Regions from separate parts of the Homo sapiens genome. Here region 2 is linked to region 1. The links are contacts of gene promoters, found by promoter capture Hi-C in blood cells and fetal thymus (Javierre and others, 2016). All regions are on one chromosome and are shown on one strand. The core of a region is centred on a gene start or on the middle of the fragment in contact, and the rest is flanking DNA. Distances in the headings are between cores, read along the strand shown.

Evidence for each region. The method cuts DNA at HindIII sites, captures the fragments that hold promoters and counts their contacts. A CHiCAGO score of 5 or more calls a contact.
Region 2: a fragment that was not itself captured here is called in contact with the fragment with the promoter of F5 in region 1 in 5 of 17 cell types (total CD8 T cells, fetal thymus, total CD4 T cells and 2 more); the score reaches 7.3 in total CD8 T cells.

The regions. Positions count from the first base shown.
Region 1 is chr1:169,584,867-169,587,830 of GRCh38, reverse strand. It overlaps F5 (coagulation factor V), which reads left to right and starts at 1,350. Exons shown (of 25, transcript NM_000130.5): 1 at 1,350-1,602. The coding sequence starts at 1,445. RefSeq lists enhancers at 875-1,374, 1,375-1,876. The HindIII fragment of the contact is 11,391 bases long and covers 1-2,964 here.
Region 2 is chr1:168,603,246-168,606,441 of GRCh38, reverse strand. No RefSeq gene overlaps it. Among named protein-coding and RNA genes, the nearest start is that of XCL1, 28 kb to the right of the region's middle. The HindIII fragment of the contact is 2,346 bases long and covers 765-3,110 here.

The DNA of each region.
Region 1 (2,964 bases), core at 101-2,600:
TGCATAAAGCATAAGACAGAAACCTGGAGCCATGCAGATACAGGGAACCCAGGACAAGTCATTATGATGCCTCAGACAATATAATTCGCAGATTCTCTATCAATAGCAAAGTAAGATTTAAGGTGCTGTGAAACAGTCAGATCCTTCAAGAAAAACAAGAATACAAGGGGTCCTGGAGACAGGAAAATATGATCATAATAATAAATTTGTGATTCCTTCTTTCTCTCTTTTTCTCTTTCTTTCTTTTTCTTTCTTTCTTTTTTTTTTTTGATGGAGTTTTGCTCTCGTTGCCCAGGCTGGAGTAAAATGGCATGATATCAGCTCACTGCAAACTCCACCTTCCAGGTTCAAGCAATTCTCTTGCCTCAATCTCTCGAGTAGGTGGGATTACAGGTGTCCACCACAACGCCCGGCTAATTTTTTATATTTTTAGTAGAGAAGGGTTTCACCATGTTGGCCAGGCTGGTCTTGAACTCCTGACCTCAGGTGATTCACCCGCCTTGGCCTCCCAAAGTACTGGGATTACAGGCGTGAGCCACTGCGCCTAGCCTCTGTGTGTTAAGTGCTGGAACTATAGTTTACAGTAGCATTTTATCCTCCCAACATACCCTATCAGGAAAAATTATTATTGTCATCCTTATTTCACAGATGTCAAAACTGAACAGAGAGGTACAGTAACTTGCCCAAGACAACACAGCTAGTAAGTGAAACTGAAATCTGGACAACTGATTTTTTTCAGCCAAGCTCTTCAAGCCCGCTGCTATGCTGCAGCTTAGCTGGCGACAGGCCCTTATCAAGGCAGAACTGTGCCTTGATAGAGGCCAGGAAGGCGATTCAGAGCAGTAGGCCTTGTCCATGTGTTTGTTCCCTGCTTCTTCACCACTTGAAAATAGTGTTTCAGTGCCCAGTAACAGGGCACAATACTCTTTTCCTCAGATTAAAAGGGGAGCCATCTGCTTAAGGTGGTTGGGTGCCACTGCACTGCACAGAAGGTTCTCCAAGTGTGAGCTTGGACCCAGGCAGGCCTCAGGTCAGTGGTAACGGACGACTGCTTCCGTGGTGTTGGCAGGTGGAAATGGAGGGATACAGCTTTGTCCGGCTCATGAATCCCTGGGCATTGTCCCGCCTGCTAGAGCCTCTGATCTCTGCCCCTTCTTCACCTGCAGTAAAACAGTCACTAGTTTGGTTGCTCTCCCTAATACCTCTGGTCACTGGGAGCTGTGATCTCACCAAACCCCTGCCAGGAAAAGCCCCAGAAAAAGCGGAGGGAGTGAGAGCCAGAGGCTGCTGCTGCCGTTTGCAAGAACTGCAGGGGAGGAGGACGCTGCCACCCACAGCCTCTAGAGCTCATTGCAGCTGGGACAGCCCGGAGTGTGGTTAGCAGCTCGGCAAGCGCTGCCCAGGTCCTGGGGTGGTGGCAGCCAGCGGGAGCAGGAAAGGAAGCATGTTCCCAGGCTGCCCACGCCTCTGGGTCCTGGTGGTCTTGGGCACCAGCTGGGTAGGCTGGGGGAGCCAAGGGACAGAAGCGGCACAGCTAAGGCAGTTCTACGTGGCTGCTCAGGGCATCAGTTGGAGCTACCGACCTGAGCCCACAAACTCAAGGTAACTCAGGTGTGGAGTCCGGGTGGGCTTCTCTAGAGAGGAAAATCTATTTCTTTTAGAGAACATTCCCTTTGCAATGTCATGGCTTTTTTTTTTTTTAACTTCAGGTAAGTAAATATAACTAATAGGAGAGTATACTGAATTAAATAAACTGGGCAAATGCTAATTTTGCATCCAACAATGTAGTTTATCATTCTGAGGGTTTAGAAAGCACCCTATTTGATTGGTTAGATGCTACCTTCTTTTCAAGTTTATTTTCAATACAGTTTTGTTAGTATGTTTGTGTTGGCTTATATATTGGTTAATTCAAAGGCACCAGGCACTTGCTCCCTCATTAGCCCTTCCTGCAAACTCCTGTTCCAGATTTTTAGTTGTATAGTATTTTTATGAGACTCCTAGTTACATATTATTTATTCCATTGTCTACATAGCTTCATCTTCTAAAACTAAAAATGAACACCTTGTGCTTTTTGTCATATAATTTTATTGCTGCCTTATAAATGACTTTCAAAATATCATCAGTTCTTGTATGTTTTTGTACTTTCACCTTTTTTCTGCTTCATATTTGACTTATTTATCCTATTGAATGTGACTCTTCATTTTTTTTTCTCTCTGTTCATCATGTCCTGGGATATGGTTTACCTTGGCTACTTAAAGGCATATGTAACTGAGAGGAGGTTTAATTCAGATAAAATACTATCCTTGAGTTGCAAACTATTTTTTCTAATTGAAATGTTAAAAATAAGACTTCTCAGAAATTAACTAAATCATACAGTCTATTCAATATTTCCAGTTAGTTATTTTTTAAATGGTAAACCTGCTAGTGTGACTCACTTTTTTTCCTTACATCACACTTCATTATGAAAGATGTGTTCCTCTTTTACAATTACAAAACCAAAGTAATCTGCCAAAAAATAATGTAATATTTTGAGATCTTTTAGTGTATAATATTAACCTTTTTAAAACTCTCATTGTAACTGGGTTATTTTGGAGGGTATTACATACCATCTTGGTCTTATAATAAGAAGAGATCCCTCCTTCTCAAAAATAATCATTTTAAATATCGTACTTCAAAGTGATAATCTAGGTCACACCCACACCCTTTGGGAACTGCCGTAAGCTAAAACCCCAAGGAAAATAACAGTCCTTCTAACACTAATCTTGCCTGCTCATGAGTAGAATGCAGACTTGGTTGTTGGCTTTCTTGTAGCATGCTGGGTTCATGCTTGGGAGTTTTTTCTCTTGTCTGTAGTTAGCGTTGAAAATAACAAGCAAAATACCGGAGGCAGAACCAGATAGGGCAAAGGTCTGATTCACATGGTGAGTACACAGGGAACCATGACTGGTCATTCTGTCCCCTCAT
Region 2 (3,196 bases), core at 688-3,187, 980 kb after region 1:
TATTTCATTATGTATAATGTATTTAGGTTTCATCCATATTGTAGCATATATCAAAACTTCATTGTTTTCATGGTTGACTAATACTTTATTGTACATATGTACAGATTTGTTTATTGATTCATCTGTTGCCAGATCTTTGGGTTGTTTCCACCTCTGGCTATTGTGAGTAATGCTGCAATGAATATTGACATACAAGTATATGCTTGAGTTCTTGTTTTCAATTCTTTTTCAGAGTAGAATTTCTTGGTTATACTATAATTCTATGGTTAGCTCTTTGAGAAACCACCAAACTATAATATTTTCTATAAGGACTACATCATTTTACACTCCCACCAGCCATGTATGAGAATTCTAGTTTTTCCACATCCCCACCAATACTTGTTGTTTTCTGGTTTTGTTTTATTATAGCCATCCTAGTAGATGTGGTATATAGATTTTTTTAAAAGCACATTCTAGTAATACAATCCTCAGACAAAAGCCCTCAATCAATGTATGTATCTGAATTGGGTATCAACTGTACACAAATTGCTTCATTTAGAAAATGCTTCTTGAGTAAGGCACACTGCATAGATGCATGGTTCAGGCAAAAAATGAGAAAGCTGGAAATAAAGATGGATGTAAAATTAAATAGGGAAACTTTTCCCCAACCAATTGGACAGCAGAAGGACCATTTGCCAAGTGGTTATGAGTGATAAGAAACACTTCTGGGATTCATTGCCCAAGATATACCTGTTATTTATTTAAGGTTGCTAGTCAATAAAGCTTATATCACCATCTTTATTCATCTCACCAGTAACTTATTAAATTATATTACCTTAATTTTTTGCTGTTGTGCATTTTATGAGATGTACAAGATACATATAGTACCATGGTGAAATCCTGCCTCTGTAAACTGCCCTAAGCCCACTGATGTATATCTCCATTAAAGTTCCCTGGAATGGCCAAACTAGGTTTTTTAATCTGAATAATGGAGGTTATATTCATTGTCTTCATTTCCCTCTTTCTCAGTTTCTTTGCTTCCTTGTGTTTTAGTACAGTTTCATCCTTCTTTTGTCAAGGAAAAGATATGAAACAAATCTTCAGGCTCACACTTACCAGCTGCATTTGAGTGTTTATTCTCAGATTCATTAATGGCCAGACAGAGAGGCTGGCTAGGAAAGAAAGTAAAGTATGAGAAACTTCAGCCACTTGAAGTCCAAAATGAATGTGAAGCATCTCTGAAACTATAATCTGTGTCAAAGGAAAATCAGACTATAATTAAAAGGAAGAAAGAAATAGGCCATTATCCACAACATTTTGTTTACCATGTAAAAGAGGAACACAGGCTTTCCAGGAAATAAGTAAATTGTGGGTAATTTAAGAACAGACATCATATCTTATATACCTCCAGGTGAGGGACTTCTGTTTGTCTCTTTAGATCTGTTCTTTACTTAACTCCTCTTATTTTTAGCTGGAAAACAATTACATAGAATAAAGACTGAATTTCCCATACTTTCTTGCAGCTGAACTTACCTATATACTTGGGGTTATGCATACAGCTTCTAGAAAATGTCTTTTGAAGGAAGAAACCCATCTTTTTCTTCCCTTTTCTTCTTCTTGCTGGATGGAAAGTGGATGCAAATTTGAGAATTAAAAATGAAAAGAACCTGGGTTCCAGGGATCTCATACCAGCCTTGGCCTTGTTAACTACTGATTTTGTCCCTAGAGGACAGAGAAAAAAAAAACCTATCTAGTTTAAGCCACTCTTATTTTGGCTTTTTGGTCACTTGCAGTTAAACCTACTCCTTAGCAATACACCCCTTCAACCTCTGGAAGAATACCTTTCAATCAATCAACAGCTGCAATGATCACAGTTACAATGGACTAAACAGATATGTTGGGGCTGTTGCCGTCCTCACATTTTTGGAAGGCTCAGTGCTTTGGGTCTCAAGAATATAGCAGAGAGAATTTGGGCATGATTTATTTTAATATGGTGAGCAGAACATCCTGAGGGAAACACACACCCTTATATACATATACATGCACACACATATAAATATATATATGCATGCACATACACATAAATATAATGTCTCCATAGATTGATAAAATACCATTCAGTGGAGAGTGCAGTGACCAGGGTACAAATACAGGCACTGTCACTGGATGGTGGAAGCATAAATTGGTGTGATCTTTCGGGAAGAAATTTGCCAATATGTATCACAGCCTTCTCTAAGGAGAGAATGTGAACAAAGAGTGATGGCCAAAATTTTCATTGTAGCAGTAGATTATACAGAAAGTTTCTCAACCTAAGGGTTCAAACAATAAATGCATGTGTTGTGAAGTGTCAGAGCTGGCAGTTAACTGGAGTTTCTTTCCCATGAGTTGATTTTCATCAAGGAAAGAATTTCTCAGAGGTTGGGCATCAAGCGATAGAGAGGAGTAGATGGCAGACAATGAGACATCTGCCTCCGACCAGGCCCATAGGTCAGTCTAGCCACAAGGGACAGAGAATCACCCTCAGACACTAAAGAAGCTGTTTCCATAAATGAGACACAGAGGCCTGAAAACTCTGTTTAGTACTCAGGGGAGAAGTTAGAAGACTTAGTGCAGAGCATTCTTCACTTGGTGAAGAATCTTGGTTGGGTTCAGCACAGACGGATGATGTGCCTTGGCAACCTGAGGGTCTGCAGCTTTGGGAAGATAAGGAGACCTAGCCTAGGGAGGCAAGCCAGCATCACCATGCCAGGTGCCAGCATCTGTAGTAGTGGGGAGGTGCTGCCCTCAAGCGGCTGTTTGGACAGTAAGCATCAGCAGGGGGCCAGGAGTGGAAGAGCAGAACATTTGTGAGCTCACCTGGGATATATCTTAACCACACACTCCAATTTCAGCTCTGCCTGGGTCATATGCCCACCTGCATATTCAGTTCTCCCTGGGAGAACTGAAATTGGGTGTGTGGCTAAAATATATATGCAGGTGGGCATATGAGCCAGTGAAGTGTGTAGCCACAAGCTAGGAAACAACCTAAATGCATAATGATAGAAAAAATCAGGTAAATTATGCTTTGTCTCATAACCTGTGAGCCTGATATTATCTGTGGATGTTCAGTATCCTTTCTGTCCTTCTAAGCTTTCCCCTTGTAAAACAGGGCCTGAAAGCATGGAAATCACGTTTCTCAAGTGCCTGTTTGAATATCATTGGGGTGGCACTTTGTGAA